2 separate regions of the Homo sapiens genome follow, and region 1 is linked to region 2. Evidence: promoter capture Hi-C in 16 types of primary human blood cells and fetal thymus (Javierre and others, 2016). All regions are on one chromosome and are shown on one strand. Each heading gives the region's core, a stretch centred on a gene start or on the middle of the fragment in contact. The rest is flanking DNA. Distances are from core to core; before and after follow the strand shown.

The links. Contacts are between HindIII fragments. The CHiCAGO score rates a contact against its expected background, and 5 or more counts as called.
Region 1: a fragment that was not itself captured here is called in contact with the fragment with the promoter of MARVELD2 in region 2 in 1 of 17 cell types (M2 macrophages); the score reaches 6.4 in M2 macrophages.

The regions. Positions count from the first base shown.
Region 1 is chr5:71,514,557-71,521,102 of GRCh38, forward strand. It overlaps BDP1 (BDP1 general transcription factor IIIB subunit), which reads left to right. Exons shown (of 39, transcript NM_018429.3): 20 at 388-566; 21 at 1,505-1,715; 22 at 2,766-2,896. Among named protein-coding and RNA genes, the nearest start is that of BDP1, 62 kb to the left of the region's middle. The HindIII fragment of the contact is 5,933 bases long and covers 393-6,325 here.
Region 2 is chr5:69,411,790-69,417,645 of GRCh38, forward strand. MARVELD2 (MARVEL domain containing 2) reads left to right here and starts at 3,327. Exons shown (of 7, transcript NM_001038603.3): 1 at 3,327-3,381. It overlaps RAD17 (RAD17 checkpoint clamp loader component), which reads left to right. Exons shown (of 19, transcript NM_133338.3): 19 at 2,242-3,012. The coding sequence ends at 2,503. RefSeq lists enhancers at 3,104-3,987, 3,988-4,870. The HindIII fragment of the contact is 19,290 bases long and covers 1-5,856 here.

The DNA of each region.
Region 1 (6,546 bases), core at 2,109-4,608, 2.1 Mb after region 2:
CTTACAGTATTGTGAGCTTCTTTTTAGATCAGTACAAAGAGATATATCTTCTTTTAAATGATTAGGTACTATTGCATTGTAAAGAAATTAAAATTTATTTATTCCATCCCCTAATGATATATCTGTTTTATTTCTGATTTTTTTGTTTGTCTTTTCCGGTGAGGGAGGTGGTGCTTAAATTGTTACAATAAATATTTTTGTGTGTATATTTCTACTTGTTGAGTATTTATAAGATACATTTCTAGAAGTGGAATTGCTGGGAATTTAGAATTTTGGTATAGACTACCCTATTATTCTTCACGAAGATGATATCAGTTTATACTTGTAAAGTTCTTATTTCCTTATACTTTTAGCAACTGTGAATGAAATTTTTTTTCTGTCTTCTAGGATGAAGCTTCCCTAATGATATCAAGAGAAAAAGACACATTAGGTCACAGGAATGAGGAGGCTGTGATATTGCCATGTACACAGACTGAAAGGAACCTTTCACCTTCAAATTCTTGTGAACCTAAAGAGGAGTCTCAGTCAGCACCAGTCCAGAAAAATGACTCAGTTGTTTCTGTGGGGTAAACAGTGATTTTCTTTGACAATATAAAATAAGAGAGATACTTCTTTTAAATATTTCTAATTTTTATTGAGATATGTTAATGCATTTAAAAAGTGAACATAAAGAATATTGGTTTAATTTTATTGATACAGCAGACTGCCTAAAATATAATATCAGATTGAATTCAACACCTTCTAATGGTTGCCTGCTTATCTGCATTGTCAGCTGCGTAAGAGTGTATACAAAGCAATGCATTTAAAAACTACAAGTTGAGCATCCCTAATAAAAAATTCTGAAATGTGCCACAATTTAAAACTTTTTGAGAGCTGACATGATGCTCAAGAAATGCTCAGTGGAGCATTTTGGATTTTCAAAGTAGGGATGCTCAACTGATAAGTATAATGCAAATATTTCCAAATCTAAAAAAATCTGAAATCTGAAACATTTCTGGTCCTAAGCATTTTGGATAGGGCTACTCAGCTTATATGTATATAAGCTATATATATTCATTAACTTTTAAAAATTAGTATACACATAAGATAAAATTTACCATTTTAACTATTTTTTAATATACAGTGGCATTAAGTGTATTCACATTGTTGTCCCGTTGCCACCACCATTCATCTCTAGACTTTCTTTTTCATCTTCATAAAATGAAACTCTCTACCCATTAAATACTAACTCATTCTCCTCCTCTTCCAGCTCCTGGCAACCACCATTCTATCTGTATATTTAGCTACTTTAGGCATATTATATAAGTTTATTACCTTTTAAGAATTGACATAACTGTTTTCTTTTGTAAAATAAGATGTTTATAATCAGAAAGCAATTTCCCTTTAATGGTACAAAGTATTTTTTAGAGTGTTTATTAGAGGAGATCCAAATTTTACATTTTTACATTAGTTTTCAGCTTTTTACAGTCAAGCGCCCTGCCTTTCTCCCTGTCCCCTTGTTTAGGACTAATAATGTAAACACTTTCCAGCAAGAAATGAAGGAAAGTGTTATCCAAACTGCTCGACAAGTAAGGGGCCGACTTCAGAGACCGAGACCAAATATAAGAAAGACAGGACAGAGGCAAATAGTAGACAAAGGTGAAGCCAAAGGCATAATTAAGGAAGGAAGAACGATATTACCAAAAGATGAAACTGAAAAGAAAGTCTTAACTGTGGTGAGTTATTGTTATGTAATTAAATTTAGCCTTTTAATGCATTTAAAATGTCAAGTTATAGCTCAGACATAGCTTAGAAATACAGGCATCTGACACTTATTCTACTCAATGAATACAGTTTCCAGTTTTGTTTCAGATTTGCTCTTCTGGATTTTTTTTTTAAGTGAAAATAGATTTATTTCTTTTCTAATTAATGAAGCTATTCATCGTAAAATGTTCCATTAGGACAAAATAATATAAATACCGCAAATCTTACTCTGAGATAACCACTGAAAACCTTTTGACATATCTTACTGGATTTATTTCCATGCACACATTATGTGCACACTTATGCAAATTTAAACAATAAAGTCATTACGTACTATAACTTTCTGTTATTCACTGAATACTATGTTAAGTGGCTTTCTGGATCAAGAAATATGTTAGTTACATCATTTTTGCTGTATAACATGCTGTTTTGAGTAACAGTTTAATCTCTTATTAATGGGTCTTTTGGTATTAGGGAAAAAGTCTAAGTAGTGTAATGTCTAAAAATGTTCATTTTAGGTAGTTCTTATTTTTCTGTTAAACAATGCAAAGTCTAGATTTAAAATAATCTTTATTTGAACCAAAAAGCTCTTTCTTAAAAAAAAAAATTAAACTTTGTTTATTTTTAATTTCATAGCAGGTGACTATTATAGTTTTCAAAGTATTATGTAAACATATTACTGCAATAATCTTTGAAACTTTTCTCTGAACTAGGCATCCTTGTTTTTGGCAACAGAATGTGAACATTACATATCCAGTTTGAATCTAATTTTAAAGAATTAACCACCCATGGTGGTATCTGCCTGTAATCCCAGTTACTCAGGAGGCTGAGGAAGGAGGATCGTTTGAGCCTAGGACTTTGAGACTAGCCTGGGCAGTATGATGAGACTATCTCAAAATGCATAAATAAAAATTTAAAAAAGAAAAGGGATTTTAAAAAACTAAATATCTTAATGGTGGAAATATTTTAAGAGGTATATTCTGCTATAAAAATAACATACTAATATGATTTTGTCTTTTCAGTCAAATTCTCAAATTGAAACTGAAATTGAAGTTCCATCGTCCGCAGTTCCAGAACACAGAATGTATGAAAATCAAAGTCAGGTGGTTCTTGTAGAAAACCTTCATGTTAACAAAACAAATGAAACAATCAGGTGAGTTTGCTTTTAATGAGAAAAAATAAGACTTTTCAAAGATAAAAGTTATATTTTTGCATAGTTGACTTTATATATTAATAACTTCACATCCTGAAAATGTTAAAAGGATAAAGTAATAAATACTTGTGATACTAGAGTCTTTTAAATCTGCTTCTCGAATACTGTATGAATTGCATGGCTGATATTCTCTTAAGTATATGATATTCCCTTAAGTATATGTAATTTCTCTGAAAAGTTTGACAAGCATCCTACTTTTTGGTACCAAAACTAAATTTTTAATAGTAGACAAAGATTCTTAAGTTCTCTGTATCTTTTTTAGAAATTTAGGCCAGGCGCAGTGGTTCACGCCTGTAATCTCCCAGCACTTTGGGAAGCCAAGACGAGAGGATCGCTTGAGTCCAGGAGTTCAAGACCAGCCTGGGCAACATAGTGAGACCTCGTCTCTATAAAAATAACAAATAAAAAAAAGAAAAGAAGTTTATAACCTACTGACTAAAATTCATTAATAGGTAGTGCTATAAAGTATACTTAACAGTATACTATATTTAGAGGTAACTACATCGAAGCCAAATGGTAAGAATGATATCTTTTAATTGAGATGAGCTAGTAGGGTGAAGAAGTTTTAACATTACCACTTTTATTTATTACTTGCTATCTGCCTTCTTATTATTAAAGCAAGATGTGTTCTTTTCTTTAGTAAAAACGCCTTTCCTTTCTGTATATAGTTCTTGGTCCATCTAACTTACTGTCTTAGTAACTAGAACATGTTTTAGTGAAGTATTTATTAATTTTCCTCCAGGATGTTTTCAGCACTTATGAATATACTTTAAATATTTCAGCTTCCTTTAATTAGGTAGAGTGACTTTGGCTTTCTGGGAAATGCAGAGGAGATGTTATTGTATCCTTTTTTAACCCTCTCTAGTTAGGTGAAGCTAGAATTTGGGCATGTTAGGTCATCTGTCAAAACAGGTGCTATTGATTTATATTTTCTTTTTATTATATTTACTTTTTGAGACAAGGTGTCTCACTGTGTCGCCCAGGATGGAGTGCAGTGGCGCAGTCACAGCTCACTGCAGCCTCAACTTCCTGGGCTCAAGCAATTCTCCCACCTCAACCTCTCGAGTAGCTGGGACCACAGGTGCACACCATCATGCCTGGCTAATATTTTTGTATCTTTTTGTAGAGATGGGGTTTCACCATGTTGCCCAGGCTGGTCCTGAACTCCTGAGCTCAAGTGAACCGCCCATCTCGGCCTCCCAAAATCTTGGGATTACATGGTGAGCCACCGTGCCCGACCTCTGTTAATTTTAGATGCTTGAAGCAGTTTGCTTTCATTTAGACGAGTTTCTAATGTGAAGTTTTTATTTTAGTATGGATTACTTTTTTTTTTTTTTTTTTGGAGACAGAGTCTCAGAGTGCAGTGGCTTGATCGTGGCTCATTGCAACCTTCGCCTCCTGGATTCAAGTGATTCTTGTGCTTCAGCCTCCCGAGTAGTTGGGATTGCAGGCACCCACCACCACACCCTACTAATTTTTGTATTTTTAGTAGAGATGGGGTTTCACCATGTTGGCCAACCTGGTCTCGAACTCCTGACCTCAGGTGATCCACCCACCTCAGCCTCCCAAAGTGCTGGGATTACAGGCATGAGCCACTGCGCCCAACCTGGATTACTTTTGTTTTCAATATTACAGCCCCTCCCCCTGCTTTTTGTCTTAAAAAGCCTTAAATTTTTTTTTGATATATAATAGTTATACATATTTTTGGACTACATGTGATATTTTGATACATTATACACAATATATAATTACCAGATCAGAGTAACTGGGATATCCATCACTTCATACTTTTATCTTTATATTGGCAACATAATTTTCTAGCTATTTTGAAATAATACAATAAATGATTGTTAACTATAATTTTTCCTACTGTACTACTGAATACCAGAACTTATTCCTTCTATCTAACTGTATTTTTATACACACTAACCAGCTTCTCATTACTCCCTTCCCTCTTGCCTTCCTAGCCTCTGGTGAGCACCATTCTAATCCCTACCTCCATGAGATCCACTTTTTAAGCTGCTACATATGAGTGAGAACCAGCAATATTTGTCTTTCTGTGCCTGGCTTATTTCACCTAACATAATGACCTCTAGTTCCATCTATGTCACTGTGAATGACAGGATTTCATTCTTTTTTATGGTTAAATAATATTCCATTGTGTATATATACCACACTTTCTCACTTTCTTTATTCATTTGTTGCTGGACACTTAGGTTGATATTATGTGTTGGCTATTGTGAATACCACTGCAGTAAACATGAGAGTTCAGATATCTCTTTGATACAGTGATTTCCTTTCTTTTGGACATACACCTGGCAGTAGGATGGCTCAATCAAATGGTAGTTCTATTTTTAGTTTTTTGAGGAACTTTCATACTTTTTTCCATAATGGCATTCCTACTTTATATTCCCACGAACAGCCTATGAGTTTTCCCATTTCTCCACATCCTGACCAGTATTTGTAATTTTTTGTCTTTTTAACAGTAGCCATTTTAACGGCAGTAGGATATCTCAGTGCAGTTTTGATTTGCGTTTCCGTGATGATTAATGATGTTGAACATTTTGTCAGACACCTGTTGGCCATTTGTATGTCTTTTGAGAACTGTCTGTTCTCTTTTGCCTATTCTTTAATCAGATTATTTGTTTTTTTGCTATTGAGTTGTTTTTGTTCCTTATATATTCTGGTTATTAACTTTTGTGAGATGGATAGTTGGGAATTTTTTCTCCCATTCTGTAGGTTGTCTCTTCACTTTGTTGATTGTTCCCTGTGCTATGCATTGAAAAGTCTTTCCATATTGCTTTTATTTTAAGATTAAGGCCAATTTTTACTTCACATTAATTTTAGGTTCCCTTAGCCATTTTTTCAGTTTTTAAAACTGGATATTTTATTGAAATGTTTTTTACTAAAATGCATTAGACTTATATTACAAATGCTATATTGGATTAGGTTGATGATTGATCTCAGAGCAATTTAACTCTGATAATGTCTAGGAAACATTACAGATGAATTTGTTTACATCATTCACTTCTCCTAATTACTAATTATGGGATTATTTTCTATGTATAATCCCTTTTTGATCTCAAAGAATTATAGAATTTTACCACTGAAAATAACCTTATATACTCATTTATTCCACAAACATTTTAGTGTCTGCTGTGTGCCAGGCATTGTTCTAAGTGCTGATGATGTAGGAATAAATGAAGAAAAAAATGCTGTCACTGTGGAGTTTATATTCTAATTGAGAAACAGATTATAAATGAGAAATAAGTTGAATAAATAAGTGATAAATCAGTAGAGAAAAATAAAGTTTTGAGTAGGGAGTGTTGTGACTGGGGATTCACTTTTTAATCAGCAGTGACCAGAGAAAGCTTCATTGAAAGGGTGCATTGAAGGCCGGGCATGGTGGCTCACACCTGTAATCCCAGCGCTCTGGGAAACCAAGGCGGGCGAATCACCTGAGTTCGGGAGTTTGAGACCAGCCTGACCAACATAGAGAAACCCCATCTCTACTAAAAATACAAAATTAGCCAGCCGTGGTGGCGCATGCCTGTAATCCCAGCTACTTGAGAGACTGAGGCAGGAGAATC
Region 2 (5,856 bases), core at 2,077-4,576:
CCCCTAAGATTATGGCATCAAAATAAAGACAAGTATGTTCTATTGTATTTTTGCTCCTGAGATGTATTGAGTTGCTGCAATTTACACAAGGCTAAATTGAATGAGAATCTTCACTATTTTATTATTGGTTCAACTACCTACTTGATGTGACTTGAGAGGCAGTATTTTCTTTTCTTTTTTTTTTGTAGACGGAGTCTAGCTTTATCGCCCAGGCTGGAGTGCAGTAGCACGATCTCGGCTCACTGCAAGCTCCACCTTCTGGGCTCACACCATTCTCCTGCCTCAGCCTGCCGAGTAGCTGGGACTACAGGCGCCCGCCACCACGCCCAGCTAATTTTTTGTATTTTTAGTAGAGACAGGGTTTCACTGTGTTAGCCAGGATGGTCTTGATCTCCTGACCTCGTGATCCGCCCACTTCGGCCTCCCAAAGTGCTGGGATTACAGGCGTGAGCCACCACGCCTGGCCACGAGAGGCAGTATTTTCAGTGCTATATATTACAATGACTGGTACTATCTTTTATTTATGTTGACCATATTTAAAACCATTGTTCATATGTTTAGTATTTAGTATTAAATATTAATACTTAATATTTAATAGGTGTTTAATTTCCTGTAATTCAACCTACACGTTATTTTTGCCCATTTAGCTTTTTTTCAGCTTTTACTATCCCAGCCTTATAGATAAGTCATCATGCACTTCAAATACTATTTACTTAGGGTGAATTCCTACAAATGAAATTGCTGGATCAATAGGTATATACCTTTTGGGGCTTTTCCTCTTTATTGCCAAATTGTTGGCAAGAATATTTTGCCAGTTTTGTATCCACTTACAGTGTATCAGTATGTTCTTTTCTCCTAACCCTTGCCACCACTGGGTTTTAAAAGTATCTTTGCCAGTTTAGAAGATGACAGTAATAGGCCAGGCGCAGTGGCTCATGCTTGTAATCCCAGCACTTTGGGAGGCTGAGGTGGGTGGATCATCTAAGGTCAGGAGTTCGAGACCAGCCTGGCCAACATGGTGAAACCCTATCTCTGCTAAAAATACAAAAACTAGCTGGGTGTGGTGGTGCCCGCGTGTAATCCCTGCTACTCCAGAGGCTGAGACAGGAGAATCGCTTGAACCTGAAGTGGAGGTTGCAGTGAGCCAAGATCGTGCTACTGCCCTGTAGCCTGGGTGACAGAGCAAGACTGTCTCAAAAAAAAAAAAAGATGACAGTAGTAGCTCATTATGTTAATTTTCATTTTTAAAATTACAAATTAGATTTAACAATTTAGGAACCATTTGTATTTGTTTTATAAGTTGTCCATGTTTGTGCCCATTTTTCTATTTCATTTTTTCCTTTTTAATTTGTAAAAATTCTTTACTGAAGGCTGGGTGTGGTGGCTCACACTTGTAATCCCCGCACTTTGGGAGGCGGAGGCAGATGGATCACCTGAGTTCGGGAGTTCAAGATTACCCTGGCCAACATGGTGAAACCCCATCTCTACTAAAAATACAAATTAGTTGGGCATGATGGCATGTGCCTGTAATCCCAGCTACTTGGGAGGCTGAGGCAGGAGAATCGCTTGAACCTGGGAGGCAGAGGTTGCAGTAAACTGAGATTGCACCACTGCACTCCTGCCTGGGCGATAGAGAAAGACAGTCTCAATGAAAAAAAAGAAAAAAGAAAAATTCTTTACTGAAGACATTATTTCTTTTTATTTTTAGGTGTTTTTGTTGTTGTGGTTTGGTTTGGTTTTTTTGTTTGTTTGTTTTTTGTTTGGAGACAGAGTCTTGCTCTGTCGTACAGGCTGGAGTTCAGTGGCACGAGCTTGGCTCACTGCAGCTTCTGCCTCCTGGGTTCAAACAATTCTCCTGCCTCAGCCTCCTGAGTAGCTGGGATTACAGATGCGTGCCACCACGCCTGGCTAATTTTTCTATTTTCAATAGAGATGGGTTTTTGCCATGTTGGCCAGGCTGGTCTTGAACTCCTGGCCTCAAGTGATCTGCCTGCCTTGGCCTCCCACAGTGCAGATAGTACAGGCATGAGCCATCGTGTTCAGCTCCTTTTTGTATTTTAAGTTGTAGGAACTTATTCAGTTTGTCATTTACCTTGTAGTTTTGTTTTTATAGTTAAAGGGACTAGCTAAACAGCACAATGTAGGTAAATGAAAGATGGCTTCATAATCATCACACTCATGGTGTAATTTAAAAATCTTCTCCTTTGGTTCTTATTAATGCCTGCACTGTGAATCTGACAGATTGAAAATGGAAGCCCTGACTGACAGGGAACATGGAATGATAGACCCTGACAGCGGAGATGAAGCCCAGCTTAATGGAGGACATTCTGCAGAGGAATCTCTGGGTGAACCCACTCAAGCCACTGTGCCGGAAACCTGGTCTCTTCCTTTGAGTCAGAATAGTGCCAGTGAACTGCCTGCTAGCCAGCCCCAGCCCTTTTCAGCCCAAGGAGACATGGAAGAAAACATAATAATAGAAGACTACGAGAGTGATGGGACATAGAAGCCAGCCTGCTAATCAGATTGCTACTTCACAGCTTCATTTTTGTTTCATTCAGTGGTACTTCAGCAGAGTTAATATGCTTTTCTGATGAATTACACAACAGTTTGTTAATTCTTCATTCTTGTAGTATTTCATCACAAGAAACCTACTCTTCTGTCATCTTGAAGTAAATAGAAGATCAAGCCTTCAAATCTCTTAATTTTTTCGGTATTTATTAAATCTGTGAGTGGTTTAAGGAGCGGTCAGTGTGTATAAAGTGTGTTTGAACATTATGCCAAATATCAAGATGTGAAGGACTAATTCAGGATGCAAAAACGTTATTGGGGGGTTGTAAATATCAACTATTCAACAGTTTAGGATGCAATTACGAGTGTAAACTGTGTGCCTTATTTACACTTTATTGTCTCCCGCTTCTCAGATAGTTTTGATGTGTTGTACAGTGGAATATCTTAGATACTTTTTGGAAAGTATTTACATAAGTTATATCACAATTAAAATGTTGAATTTAATTTTGTTTCTCCTGTCTTTTAACATTATCTAGCACGCACTCGCTGCCATGGGTCCTTAAGCACAGTGCACCAATCTCCCTCCCCCAGTGTCAAACTTTTCAAAAGATAGGGAAGAGGATGGCAACGTTGCGATGAGAACTGTAAACTCTTTCCAAAAGAGCCCAGTGTGTGGTCATTGCCGCGACGTGCCGGCTGGTGGCACCGAGCAGCCTGGGCCCAGAGCGGTTGTCGGGCCGACAGATCCGGGCGGGGCAAAGCCGGGCGGGGAAAGCTGGGCTCGTCCCGTCCCGGCCCCGCCCCCACCCCGGGAGCCCGATACCGGTTTCAGAGTCCTGGGCAGCGTGCGCGCTCTTCCTGGCGGCTGCGCAGGTAAGTGGGACCGGGGTGGGGCCACGTGACCGGGAGAGGAGGGCCCGGCGGCCCCCGGCCCAGGTGTGCTGCGACGGACGGCTGCCCGCGCTCGGCGCTCAGCCTGCCATAGCCCGCGGGGGAGGCCGGAGCCAGGGATCCGGGGAGGCCCGCGTCCCGCCAGGTTTCGCTCTGCGGACGCAGGTGCGGCCGAGCCGCCGTCCTTCCGGGCGCGGGGCGGGGCGCGCACCTCGGGGCGATCTCGGTGCTCCTTACCTGGGAGGTCTCCCGGCTTAGTTTCGGCCTCGTTGGGTCGGAATCTCCAAAGACAGTGGGTTTCAGCCAGAAACGCGAAGACGAACGCCTAGCCGGCGCGGGCAGAACCGAGGACACAATGAGATTTGTGGGACCGGGCGCCCAGAGGCTGGCGCGGGGGAGACCCCACAGCTAAAATGCTCGGTACCCCCGGGCAGTCGTGGGTTAGTTAGAACCGCAGAGCCTTTCCCGACCCCTCGGAAGCGCAGAAGTATCCGAAATCTACCCGTTTCTTGGGTCCAGCAAAACTTTTAAGCCAGGTAAACCGGTGGTTCTGTTTGTGTAAAGGTGACCAGGCATGATTCCTGTGACACTTTGCTGGGGCAGCCATTTCTCCTGCCATTGCCGCGGCTTTCCAAGATGAGTGTCCAAGAGTGGAGTAAGGGTCCGGGGCCTGAGCAGGACAAAGACACACGCTGCCGCGACCTGCGGGACCAGAACGAACTCTCAGTGACATCTTGAAAGACATTAGGGGTATCCAGATATTTAAGATGTAATGAAATACAGCTAACCATTCCCTTCTAAAAATCACATTATCTTGCTTTTCCACAACTCTTTAATAATTGCTTGTTTTTTCTTTAAAAATGGATAGGGTGGTTTGATTCAAATAAGCCACTTCACAGGTGAAGAGTTAAATCCATTACAGTGAATCGTATTTTTACCAGTGAGTTGAATTAAGCATAGCGTATCCTGTAAATGCTGTGTAAAACTTGCTAAAATCATTTGTTGTGCTTTTGCTTCTACATTTCTTAGGAATGTGTTTCAAAAACTAGAGTCGTAATAGCATTTCTAGAACTTACACTTTTTTAGAGAAAGAAAGAGAAAGGTACAAAAATAACTGATTGTTATAATATACAGAGCCGCTTTGCATTGGGCACCCTGCTGGGGCCATCACAGTTAATCCTCTAAGGTCGGAGTGCCCTATTAGAAGACCCTGGGTTTCCACCGCATTCCCTTGTCTCCAGTCTGTACATACCCTGTGTGCCTTGCTTGCCCTCTTAACGTCTCTACCTGGATTTTTAACGCATCTGAAACACTCTTCAGTCTGCTGCTCCCCAAGGCTAAGCTGGAGGGGTGGAGAATGAGGTATAGATAGATAAAATGATCAGATGTCTGGGGTTTACTTCAGAGGACTCTATTGGCAGAGGAAATAGTATGGGGAGTATAAATGAAACAAGTTTGGCCATAAATCGATAAGTGTAGAAGCTGGATGTGGGTACACAAGGGTTCATAATGCTATTCTTTCTACTTTTTATTATGTTTGAAAAATTCTATAATAAAAATTTTAAATACCTGTCTAGCATTTGACCTCTTCTCAAGATCTCAGTGATCCATTGGATTATTTCAATGGCCTAGCCAGTCTTCCTGTTTTACCTCTTGCCTTCTGGAGTGTACTCTCAACACAGCATCCATAGTGATACTGTTAAAACAAGTCAAGTCATGTCACTCCTCTATTCAGAATCCTCCAGTGGCTTCTCATCTCACTCCTAGCAAAAGACAAAGTCCTTTCTTTCCAGTGGTTTTCAAGGCCCTACATGATTCAGATGGCCTCAGTTCTACTATTCACCTTCTTACCCACTTTGCTGCTGCCACAGTAGCTTCCATGCCTAAATATTTCTTGAACATACCAGGCACTCCTGCTTCAGGGCATTTGCGCTAGCTATTCCATCTGCCTGAACACTTGTCCCTGATAATGGCCTGGCTTCCTCCTTCACCTTCAGTTCTATACTCAGATATCCCTTTCTCTGTGAAGATTTCCCTGCCCACTCGGTTTAAGATGGTAACATCCTGTCCCCATTGCAGTCTTTACCCCCTTTCTCAACTTTGTTCTTTAGCATACTGTATATTTCATTTATCTATCATCTGTCAATCTGCCCGGCACTCCCCCGGTTAAAGCATCATGAAGGCAAGGATTTCAGTCTGGTTTGTCCACCAGTATACTTTCAGCATGCCTGGTGCAAGGCAGGTTAAATGAAGGGTCTTCGTTTTCCAAAGTAAAATAAAATAAAGCCTTAGGAATTTCCAAATTGTTCAACAGTATAAAGATGGGGTTATCAGACCAGGTGCAGTGGCTAACGCTTGTAATCCCAGCACTTTGGGTGGCCAAGGCAGGAGGATCGCTTGAGCCCAGGAGTTCAAGACCAGCCTAGGCAACATAGTGATACTTAATGTCTACTAAAA